2 separate regions of the Homo sapiens genome follow, and region 1 is linked to region 2. Evidence: promoter capture Hi-C in 16 types of primary human blood cells and fetal thymus (Javierre and others, 2016). All regions are on one chromosome and are shown on one strand. The core of a region is centred on a gene start or on the middle of the fragment in contact, and the rest is flanking DNA. Distances in the headings are between cores, read along the strand shown. Region 1 has its middle 410 kb from the start of POTEA. Region 2 holds the start of POMK (protein O-mannose kinase).

Region 1 (6,022 bases), core at 1,332-3,831, 610 kb after region 2:
CAGTGCAATAACTGCCACACCAGGCATAAGTAATTAGCAAACTTACTGTGAGCCTGACCCATATTTTTCCGACATTACCATGGAATTCTCTGAGCTCCCTACTTACCCATAGAGCTTGAAGTGAAAAAGTACTCTGGCATCCTTTGTCACTCGTCCTCCACTTTCCACACTCTGCCGTTCCTTCACCGGATTATTTGTAGAGATTACAGGGAGCCCCATGTTGGGCAACGGATGTTGGGGAAACCACCCCCACACCACCCGGTGAGTACCCCAAGTTCAGAAGAGTCAAAGGAGTTGGAAAGAGACAGAATACGGGTTTAAAAGGCAGATCAAGGGGGCAGGAGATCCAGAGGCTTCCTCAAGGTCCAGAGCTCTTTGGCTCTGCCTAATTTATTGGTTTACAAGCTCTTTGTTCTTAGGACAGATGTGAGGGGAGGAAGGGAAGAGGAAAAGGGTTAATCAGTGAAGGAGAACTTGTGAGTCATTCAATAAGATGTATAGCAGTGGCCGTTTCTGTGAATTTCCTTGAGCAAAGGCATGTGTCTAGACTACTTAAGATCTTTAACTTATGGAGACTGAAAAGGGTGAGAGTGGGTTTCAGGAGGAGCCAAGATATTTGTTTATACTTCACTGTTTCAAGGGAGTGTTATCTCCCTGAGCAACCTGTGGAATGCCACGGAGCAATTATGCTTTAGGGGCATAAAGACATGAGGGCAACAAGGAGACTTTTCTGCTCAGAGACCACCCATGGTCTCTCACATAGGTGTCTCACACAGGGGAGACCATCTCATCTGGCAGCCCAGAAACTCTCTTTCCCAAAGAAACTATCTAGGATACTGCCTTCTGATGAGTGGATTCATCTCACAGAGTTAAACCTTCATGTTGATTCAACAAGTAACAAGTTGGAAACACTGTTTTTGCAGTAAATGCGAAGGGACATTTGGGAGCCCTTTGGGGCCTATGGTGAAAAATTGAATATCCCCAGAAAAAAGCTAGAAAGAAGCCCATCTGTAAAACTGCTTTGTGATGTGTGGAATTATGCCACAGAGTTAAACCATTCTTCTAATTGAGCAGGTTGGAAATATCATTTTGTAGAACCTGCAAAAAGATATTTGGGTGCCCCTTGAGGCTTACGGTGAAAAACTGAATATCCCCAGAAAAAAATAGAAGCAAGCTGCTTGTAAAACTGCTTTTGGATGTGTGGATTCATTTCACAGCTTTAAACTTTTCCTATGATTGAGCAGGTTGGAAACACCCTTTTTGCAGAATGTGTGAAGGGACATTTGGGAGTACTTTGAGGCCTATGGTGAAAATCCGAATATCCCAAGATAAAAACTAGAAAGAGACTATCTGTGAAACTGGTTTGTTTTGTATCATCTCACAGTGTAGATCCTTTTTTTTATTTAGCACGTTGGAAACACTATTTGTACAATCTGTGAAGAAATATTTGGGAGCCCGTTGAGGCCTATGGTTAAAAACCGAATATCCCCAAGAAAAAACTAGAAATAAGCTATCTGTGAAACTGCTTTCTGACGTGAGTATTCAACTCACAGATTTAAACTTTATTTTGATTCAACAAATTGAAAACACTGCTTTTGTAGTAAATGCGAAGGGACATTTAGAAGCCCATTGATGCCTATAGTTAAAAAATAGAATGTCCTTAGGTAAAAACTGAAAAGAAGCTATCTGTGAAACTGCCTTGTGGTGTGTGGAAATCACAGAGTTAAAACTTCTTCTGATTAGCATGTTGGAAACACGCTTATTTTAGAATCTGCAAAGGGACATTTAGAATTCCACTGAGGCCTATGGTGAAATACCGAGTATCCATAGTTGAAAACTAGAAAGAAACTATCTGTCGAACTTCTTTGTGATGTGTGGATTTATCCCATAGTATTACACCTTTCTTTTGATTCAGCAGTTTGGAAACACTCTTTTTTTAGGCTCCATGAAGGTAAACTTGGGAGCCTATTGAGGCCTATCATGAAAAACCAAATATCTTCAGAAAAAAACTAGAAAGAAGCTATCTGTATACTGCTTTGTGATGTGTGGATTCTCTCACCAAGTTAAAAATTTCTTTTGATTCAGTAATTTGGAAACACTTTTTTTTTTTGTAAAATCTGCGAATAGACATTTAGGAGCCTTTGAAGCCTATGGTAAAAAAACAAATATTTACAGATAAAAACTGAAGGAAAGCTGTCTGTGAAACTGATTTGTGATGTGTGGATTTATCTCACAGAGTTAAATGTCACTTTTGATTAGCAGGTTGGAAACACTCTTCTTATAGAATCTGCAAAGGGGCATTTGTGAGCCCATTGAGGCCTATGGTGAAAAACAGAATATCCCCAGATAAAAAATAGAAAGAAGCTATCTTTGAAACTGCTTTGTGATGCGTGGATTCATCTCACAGAAGTAAACCTTTATTTCTTTCAACAGATTGGAAACACCCTTTCTGTAGTAAATGAGAAGGGATATTTTGGAGCCCCTTGAAATCTAAGATGAAAAACAGAATATCCCCAGATAAAAACTAGAAATAAGCAATCTGTGAAACTGGTTTGTAATGTGTGAATTCATCTCACAGAGGTAAGACTTACTTTAAATTAGCAGGTTTGAAACACTCTTTTTAGACAATTTGCAAAGGGACATTTGGGAAGCCATTGAGGCCTAAGGTGAAAATTCAAACATCCCAAGATAAAAACAAGAAATAAGTTATCTGTGAAACTGGTTTGCCATATGTTGATTCATCTCACAGAATTAAACATTTCTTTTGATTGAGCAGTTTGTAAACACTCTTATTGTGTAATTTGTGAAGGGGCATTTGGGAGCCCTTTGAGGCCTATTGTGAAAAATTGACTATCCCCAGATAGTAACTCGGGAGAAGCTATCTCTGAAACTGGTTTGTGATGAGTGAATTTATCTCACAGAGATACAGCTTTATTTTGATTCAACAGGTTGGAAACCTCTTTTTTTGTCAAGAATAAATTCTTTAATAGAAAGATGTAGACATATATGCACAAGAAACAACAGCAAACAGGAAACCATAATCTCTCCAAATGGGCAAAGCAAAAAACCAGTAACTGACCCCATTGATATGGCTATATGTAAGCTGTCTAACCATGAATTCAAAGTAGTAGTTTTTTTCATGAAAATAAATTTAATCTTAACCCCTTAAGAGGATCTCAGGAAGAGGGGATCCTAGGACCACACTTAGACTTGATGTTCTAGGAAAATACAATTTACAAAAAATATATAATTTTTCAACAAAAAAACTTCAGACCAATTTTACTTATGATTAAGAATGGAAAATTTTTAAATAAAATAACCAATAGCATATTAAACAAACAACATGATCAACAAGACTCATTCCAGAATGAAAGAATCCTTCAATATTAGGAAATCTGTTAATGTATTTTTTTAAAATTTTATTATTATTATACTTTAGGATTTAGGGTACATGTGCACAATATGCAGGTTGGTTACATATGTATACATGTGCCATGTTGGTGTGCTGCACCAATTAACTCGTCATTTAGCATTAGGTATATCTCCTAATGCTATCCCTCACTGCTCCCCCCACCCCACAACAGTCACCAGTGTGTGATGTTCCCCTTCCTGTGTCCATGTGTTCTCATTGGTCAATTCCCACCTATGAGTGAGAAAACGCAGTGTTTGGTTTTTTGTCCTTGTGATAGTTAGCTGAGAATGATGGTTTCCAGTTTCATCCATGTCTCTACAAAGAACATGAACTCATCATTTTTTATGGCTGCATAGTATTCCATGGTGTATATGTGTCACATTTTCTTAATCCAGTCTATCGTTGTTGGACATTTAGGTTGGTTCCAAGTCTTTGCTATTGGGAATAGTGCCACTATAAACATACGTGTGCATGTGTCTTTATAGCAGCATGATTTGTAATCCTTTGAGTATATCCCCAGTAATGGGATGGCTGGGTCAAATGGTATTTCTAGTTCTAGATCCCTGAGGAATTGCCACACTGACTTCCACAATGGTTGAACTAGTTTACAGTACCACCAACAGTGTAAAAGTGTTCCTATTTCTCCACATCCTCTCCAGCACCTGTTGTTTCCTGACTTTCTAATGATTGCCATTCTACCTGGTGTAAGAAGGTATCTCATTGTGGTTTTGATTTGCATTTCTCTGATGGCCAGTGATGGTTAACATTTTTTCATGTGTTTTTAGTCTGCATAAATGTCTTCTTTTGAGAAGTGTCTGTTCATATCCTTTGCCCACTTTTTGATGGGGTTGTTTGTTTTTTTCTTGTAAATTTGTTTGAGATCATTGTAGATTCTGGATATTAGCCCTTTGTCGGGTGAGTAGATTGCAAAACTTTTCTCCCATTCTGTAGGTTGCCTGTTCACTCTGATAGTAGTTTCTTTTGCTGTGCAGAAGCTCTTTAGTTTAATTAGATCCCATTTGTCAATTTTGGCTTTGGTTGCCATTGCTTTTGGTGATTTAGAAATGAAGTCCTTGCCCATGCCTATGTTCTGAATGGTATTGCCTCGGTTTTCTTCTAGGGTTTTTATGGTTTTAGGTATAACATGTAAGTCTTTAATCTATCTTGAATTAATTTTTGTGTAAGGTGTAAGGAAAGGATCCAGTTTCAGATTTCTGTAATTATGCAGCATTAATTCTGAGGGCTCTGTTCTGTTCTTTTGGTCTATATCTCCATTTTGGTACCAGTACCATGCTGTTTTGGTTACTGTAGCCTTGTAGTATAGTTTGAAGTCAAGTAGCGTGATGTCTCCAGTTTTATTCTTTTGGCTTAGGATTGACTTGGCAATGCGGGCTCTTTTTTGGTTCCATATGAACTTTAAAGTAGTTTTTTCCAATTCTGTGAAGAAAGTCATTGGTAGCTTGATGGGGATGGCATTGAATCTATAAATTATCTTGGGCAGTATGGCCATTTTCACGACATTGATTCTTCCTACCCATGAGCATGGAATATTCTTCCATTTGTTTGTATCCTCTTTTATTTCCTTGAGCAGTGGTTTATAGATCTCCTTGAAGAGGTCCTTCACATCCCTTGTAAGTTGGATTCCTAGGTATTTTATTCTCTTTGAAGCAATTGTGAATGGGAGTTAACTCATGATTTGGCTCTCTGTTTGTCTGTTATTGGTGTATGAGAATGCTTGTGATTTTTGCATATTGATTTTGTATCCTGAGACGTTGCTGAAGTTGCTTATCAGCTTGAGGAGATTTTGGGCTGAGACAATGGGGTTTACTAGATATACAATCATGTCATCTGCAAAGAGGGACAATTTGACTTCCTCTTTTCCTAATTGAATACCCTTTATTTCCTTCTCCTGCCTGATTTCCCTGGCCAGAACTTGCAACACTATGTTGAATAGGAGTGGTGAGAGAGGGCATCCCTGTCTTGTGCCCGTTTTTAAATGGAATGCTTCCAGTTTTTGCCCATTCAGTATGATATTGGCTGTGGGTTTGCCATAGATAGCTCTTATTATTTTGAGATACGTCCCATCAATACCTAATTTATTGAGAGTTTTTAGCATGAAGTGTTGTTGAATTTTGTCAAAGGCCTTTTCTGCACCTATTGAGATAATCATGTGGTTTTTGTCTTTGGTTCTGTTTATATGCTGGATTACATTTATTGATATGTGTATGTCGAACCAGACTTGCATCCCAGGGATTAAGCCGACTTGATCATGGTGGATAAGCTTTTTGATGTGCTGCTGGATTTGGTTTGCCAGTATTTTATTGAGGATTTTTGCACCAATGTTTATGAAGGATATTGGTCTAAAATTCTCTTTTTTGGTTGTGTCTCTGCCAGGCTTTGGTATCAGGATGAATCTGGCCTCATAAAATGAGTTAGGGAGGATTCCCTCTTTTTCTATTGATTGGAATATTTTCAGAGGGAATGGTACCAGCTCTTCTTTGAAACTTTGTCCTGGACTTTTTTTGGTCAGTAAGGTACTGAATATTGCCTGAATTTCAGAGCCTGTTATTGGTCTATGCAGAGATTCAACTTCTTCCTGGTTTAGTCTTG
Region 2 (6,469 bases), core at 3,107-5,606:
TTAGGCTGGAGTGCAGTGGCGTGATCTCAGATCACTGCAAACTTTGCCTCCCAGGTTCAAGCAACCTCAGTGCCTCAGCCTTGCCAGTAGCTGGGATTACAGGCACGTGCCACCACGCCCAGCTGATTTTTGTATTTTTAGTAGAGATGGGATTTCACCATATTGGCCAGGCTGGTCTCGAACTCCTGACCTCGGGTGATCTGCCCGCCTCAGCCTCCCAAAGTGCTGGGATTACAGGCTTGAGCCACCAAAGAACTCTTTTAGCAGTTCTGTTAGAGTAGGTCTGCAGGCTACAAATTCTCTTAGTTTTCCTTCATCTTAGTTTATTTCAAGGTTATTCCTGAAGGATGTTTTCACTGCATATGGAATTCTGGGCTTGCAATTCTTTTCTTTCAGCACTTGAAAAACGTTGTGCCACTTTGGTCTTCATGATCTCAGAGGATAAATTCACTGTCATTAGGATTGTGGGTCACCTACAGCTCGTGGCATTTCTCTTTGGCTGTTTTCAATTTTTTTTCCTTGTCTTTATTTTTCAGCAGTTTGATTTTGATGTGTCTGGGCATGGATGTCTTTGGATTTATTGCATTTGGGGTTTGCTCAGTTTTTTGAATCTGTAGGTTGGTGTTTCTTTCCCAAACTTGGGAAGTTTTCAGCCATTATTTCTTCAAAAGCTTTTTAGTGCTTTCTTTCTCATCTGCTTTGGGATTCTGATGGCATAAATATTAGACCTTTTGTTATGTCCCACAGGTGCTTGAAGTTTTATTAATTTTCCCCTCCTCTCTGTTGGTCAGTTTGGATAATTTCTATTAATCTGTCTTCATGTTCACTGACTCCTCTGTCATTTCCATTCTGCCATTGAATCTATCCAGTGAGTTTTAAAATTTGATTATTGTACTTTTCTATTTTAAATGTTTATTTGGTTCCTCTTACTTTCTCCAAGTTTTTTACTCATACTTTCTTTTTTAAAATTATTATTTTTTATTTGTTTGAGACAGAGTCTCGCTCGGTGGCCCAGGCTGGAGTACAATGGCACGATCTCGGCTCACTGCAACCTCCACCTCCCAGGTACAAGCGATTCTCCTGCCTCAGCCTCCTGAGTGCACCTGCCACCATGTCCGGCTAATTTTTGTATTTTTAATAGAGACAGGGTTTCACCATGTTAGCCAGGCTGGTCTCGAACTCCTGATCTCAAGTGATTCGCCTGCCTCAGCCTCTCAAAGTCTTGGGATTACAGGCGCGAGCCACTGTGCCCAGCCCCATACTTTCTATTTTAACTTTTGTTTCAAGAATGTTTATAATTTTTTGAGCATTTTCATAACTAATGTCTTTTTCAGATAATCCTAACAGTCATTTTATAGTTGGTGACTCTTGATTATCTTTTCCCATGCAAGTTGAGATTTTTGTGATGGTTCATATGCCTAGCAATTTTGTATCCTGAGCATTTTGAATATTATGAGGCTCTAATTCTTGTTTAAATCCTATGGAGAATGTTGGCATTTTAATTTTTTTTTTTTGAGAAGGAGTCTTGCTCTGTCACTCAGGCTAGAGTGCAGTGCTGTGATCTGGGCTCACTGAAACCTCTGCCTCCTGGGTTCAAGTGATTCTTGTGCCTCAACCTTCCGGGCAGTTGGGATTACAGGCATCCGCCACCATGCCCGGCTATTTTTTTTTTTTTTTTTTTTTTAAGTAGAGACCGGGTTCCACCATGTTTACCAGGCTGGTCTCAAACTCCTAACCTCAGGTGATCTGCCCTCCCTAAGTGCTGGGATTACAGGTGTGAGCTACCGCGCCTGGCCAACAGTTTAATTTAAGCAAGCACATGAACTAGTTAGGGACAGCCTGCAGGTTCCGATCTTCTTCTGGGGTTCATGTTCCAAAGTGAGTTCTGTGTTCATACCCTCTGTGGGGCTATTTGGATCTGTCTCGTGGCTGCATCCTCCCGTAGTTTGGTACCTGAACAAAAATCTGTTCATGAGCACAGTTCTCTGAGTGTTTGGTGTGCTCGTTAAGTCGATGATACGCAGGTCAGCGATGAGCCCAAGAGTTCAAAAACAACTCTGTGAGGTTGCTTGCCAGATGCTCTCACCTTCCGCTATCTTCTCAGTGTTTTTAGGTTCCCTCAGGTTTCAGTGCGCTGGTCTGAAACTTCCCACTTTCAGTTTGGCTTGGGGGAGCTGCCCACTTCCACAATTGTGCCACAGCAGTGGGAAACAGTTAAAAACAACAAAACACCAAGTTTGTGTCTGTCCTCTTGGAGCTGCAGTGCTACTGAATGGAAAGGACTATCTCTTTCCCTCAGACTTTTGGCTGCTGAAGCTTTTTGCTCTGGCCTTGGGCTTGACTGGGGGCTGGAGTGCAAAGAAAAGAAGAAAATAGAAAGAACAGGGAATTTTCTTCACTCCCTCTGAGGGTTAGGAGTTTCCTTTTCTGCTCCACGAGCCAGAATCAGAGGGTTTCTCCCGAGTCTCTGTGTGTGCCCCCGACACTCAGTTCCAGGCTTTGGACTACCTTCAGCTTGAAGATGGGTGACACAACCAGTTTGATGGTGCGTCAAATTCTGCTGTTCTTTTTATTTTTAATTTTTTGTTTGAATTTAATTCCTCTAATTTTTCATCAGTGTTAAAATTTCACCTTTTCCCAGCACCCCCAAAAAGCCTGTGGGCACAAAATGGTGGCCACGTGGCAAAGAACTCAGCAAGGAGAGCTGCTGGTTGGTTTCTATCTTTGTTTGTTTGAGACGGAGCTTTGCTCTTTTGCCCAGGCTAGAGTGAAGTTGTTGGGGAAACCAGCCCCACACCACCCGGCGGGTACCCCGAGTCCAGCGAAGACAAAGGAATTAGAATAAGAGTTTAAAAGGCGGGTCCGGGGGACCGGAGCGTTGGAGGCTTGCTCACGGCCCCGAGCTCTCGGCCTCCACCCAATTTATTGGTGTATATTCACACTGTTGTGCAACCATCACCCCCATCCATCTCCAGGACTTTACCATCTTCTCACACTGAAACTGTGCACCCGTTAGTATTTTTCATGGCTATGTGGATGTAATATAATTTCTTTCAGAAACCCCTATTGTTATACATTCAGGTTTCTTTTTTTCTCTATTATAAATATCTTTTATCAGCAATGCTTCAGCAAGATCTCTTGTGCATACATCTTGCAGACATATTATTTCTTTTTCTTTTTTTTTTTTTTTTTTTTTGAGACGGAGTCTCGCTCTGTCACCCAGGCTGGAGTACAGTGGCGCGATCTCGGCTCACTGCAAGCTCCGCCTCCCGGGTTCACGCCATTCTCACGCCCGCCACCATGCCCGGCTAATTTTTTGTATTTTTAGTAGAGACGGGGTTTCACCGTGTTATCCAGGATGGTCTCGGTCTCCTGACCTCGTGATCCGCCCACCTCGGCCTCCCAAAGTCCTGGGATTACAGGCATGAGCCACGGCGCCCGGCCACAGACGTTATTTCTGAAGGATAAATTCCTAGAAATGGATTTGCTAGGGCACGTAGGAGGAATTCCAATTTACACTCACTTGTATGTGTGAGGAAACTTTCAGACTCTACTGTAACGACAGGAGGTATTACCGCTGTTTGTCCATGTGATAGGCAAACGTTTCTGTTAATTTTAATACTGTTTGGATAGCTAGTACCGGCTCAGTTTTTTTAACCCACACCATGTTACTGTCTTGATTCTGGACTTTCGCAGTGTGTCAGTGTAGAAGCAGCTAACGCTTCCGATGTACACAACCTAGACGTTCCATGACCCAGCTGACTTCGATGCTGCAAGCCTCCCTTTCGGTTTCCCGGAGCAAGCGCCCGAGTGCGTGTTGGGCTCCCGGCAGGGCTCCTGGCCGGCCCTCGACGGACTTCCCCGCCTTTGCCCAGTCCTGCCCCTCCGCGGAGGCTTGCCAAGGTCTTGTCTGCTGCGCTTGATGTGTGCAGCTCAGCTTTACTGCGTCTAGGCTAAGCCCCACAGTTTCTTTTACAGAGCGATTGTCCAACTTCAGGCATCTGGGTCCCCGAGTGGCGGGTCTGGGCCGGAGCTGGGAATCAGCCTTTCCAGCAAGGTCCCTGCAGATGCCGCGGGTCTGAGGACTACGCTTTGGAAGGCCTCGCAGTGCGTCTAGATCTGACAGCTGCTCTGCATGAGCCTGGCTCCAGGCTGAAGCAATAGTCGGTCAACACAAAATCGTTCTCCCAAGTTAGGGAAGCAGAAGCCAGACAGGGAGACTGGGTAGGTGCGCGCTGGTACCGCCGCGGCGTTCGCTCCGGCTTCAGTGCACGGCCGGAGGAGGACGCCAGGGGGCAGCAGCGCCACGCTCACCCGCCCAGGACGCGCTTCCGAACGCGCAAGCGCAGTAGGCCCAGTGCGTGCTGGCCCGGGGTGGCAGGAGCCGCAGAGGCTTGGGCTGCAGGTAGGTGCTGCGGCGAGGGGTGAGAGGGCGAAGGGGCGAGGGGGCGTGCAGCTGGGTTTCCCGGGGGACCCTGTACGTGGCCTGGGCCGCACCCCCCGCAGCCCCGGCCGCCTGCCCGCGGCCTGTCCGGAGGCTCCCTAGGAGGCTGCGCTGGGCCTGAGCGGCCGTGTCCACCGCGCCCAGCCCCTATCTCCGCGTCCACCCCTGCGCGGTAGCGGGACGTTAAAGAACCAGAGAAGGGCCCGGCGAGGTGGCTCCAGCCTGTAATCCCAGCGCTTTGGGAGGCCGAGGCGGGAGGATCGCGTGAGCTCAGGCGAGAGCAGCCTGGGCAACATGGCGGAACTTCTGTCTCCGTAAAAAAGCACTTAGCCGGGCGCGGTGGCGCCGCCTATAGTCTTATCTACTCCGGAGGCTGAGGCGGGAGAATGCTTGAACCCGGCGGGGGCGGAGGTTTCAGTGAGCCGAAATCGCGCCACTGCACTTCAGCCTGGGGGCCAGAGTGAGAGGCTGTTTCTATTATTATTACTTTATCATTATTATTATTATTTGAGACGGAGTCTCGCTCTGTCGCCCAGGCTGGAGTGTAGTGGCGCGGTCTTGGCTCCTGGGATTACAGGCGTCCGCCACCACGCCCGGCTAATTTTTGTATTTTTAGTAGAAACGGGGTTTCCCCATGTTGGTCAGGCTGGTCTCGAACGCCTGACCTCAGGTGATCCGCCCGCCTCTGCCTCCCAAAGTGCTGGGATTACAGGCGTGAGCTACTGGGTCCGGCAGAGGCTGTCTCTGTTTAAAAAAACAAAAACCAAACCAAACCAAAACAAAACAAAAAACAAAAAAACCAGAAAGGACCGAGGACTCTGTCTCAGCTCTTTGCCTTTGGGTGTTTATTCTGCACGAGATCATTGTTGCCAGGAGGTGTTAAGTGTAATCATATTCTCTTTTTTTTAGAAAGCAAAATTTCGCTGTTTTGTTGCATAATCTTGTCTTTGCCACCCTTTGCCTTTGCTATAGAACCTTAAGGCTAAATAAGCGTTCAGAATATTTAAAATAATCCTCTTAATGTACCTTGTGCTTTATTGGCGCAATGGAATTCTACTCTAAACTGTATTGGATGACATTACTCTGTGTCTTCCCTAGTTGTAGAAAATATCTTGTAAGTCGGTAAAAACTAGTTTTGTCCCTTTGCTTTTCTTTTCTTTTTAAGCTGTAAATGTGGAGCAGTGGGTCCCAAGCCTTTCTCTATCAATAAGCCTTCCTATCAGTGTCAGAAATGCTTTGCATTTCAGTCGTGCCTGAATTTCTTCTGCCCAACCTGCCCCACCATCTTTATTCCTTAATGTGCAGGCTGTTTTCAGGACCAGTAAATTTCAGTGGTTTTTGCTTACTTCTGGACACGAAAGTTCCTTTAGCCACACAGCCTCATGCTATGCTCTGGGCGGCCTACTCCAGAATATGCCTGTGAAACAAAAAAGCAAATCGGGGTTGAGGTGGGCTGAAGTCTTCTTTAAGAAACCGGCAGTCCCAGGGTACCCCAGCCCAGCCCCTAGCTGACCACGCTGGGTTTGATTTAGTTCAACTCCCGAGCATTGCGGTATTTAGGGGAAGAATGGGCTTGAGGCCAGAAAACTTGGCTCTTCTGTGTATAGTTCAGTGACCTTAGATATATTACTTCACCTCTGACTCAGTTGTCTTATCTGTGAAATGGGAATAACAACAATTACATCCACTTCACAGAATTGGTGTGAAGTTGACAGTGTATAAAAGTCAAATGAATTTTGGGGTATTTTTTTTATTTGTTTTGTTTTGGTTTGGTTTGGTTTGTTTTTGCCGAGAGAGGATTCAGAAGTGAATGTGAGGACTTAGGGATATATAAAAGGTTTTTGGGGCATATGAAATTTGGATTCAGCAAGAAATGCATTAAAGGTTTTCTGAGTAATGCTGAGGGTCCAAGAGAGATTAGAAAATATGCATTTCTAGAGTCCCACAGAGTTTTGTAGCTGATGTTGGCAGCCTTTGAGTGGAAATGAAGAAGTGGACAGGGCAAGTTACATGGGTCTGGTGAAT

What was found. The method cuts DNA at HindIII sites, captures the fragments that hold promoters and counts their contacts. A CHiCAGO score of 5 or more calls a contact.
Region 1: a contact is called between a fragment that was not itself captured here and the fragment with the promoter of POMK in region 2, in 2 of 17 cell types (M1 macrophages and M2 macrophages). The highest score is 7.3, in M1 macrophages.

The regions. Positions count from the first base shown.
Region 1 is chr8:43,701,764-43,707,785 of GRCh38, forward strand. No RefSeq gene overlaps it. Among named protein-coding and RNA genes, the nearest start is that of POTEA, 410 kb to the left of the region's middle. The HindIII fragment of the contact is 6,220 bases long and covers 1-5,691 here.
Region 2 is chr8:43,089,159-43,095,627 of GRCh38, forward strand. It overlaps POMK (protein O-mannose kinase), which reads left to right and starts at 4,357. Exons shown (of 5, transcript NM_032237.5): 1 at 4,357-4,405. RefSeq lists enhancers at 1,797-1,986, 3,321-4,227, 4,228-5,133 and a silencer at 4,385-4,594. The HindIII fragment of the contact is 4,326 bases long and covers 2,315-6,469 here.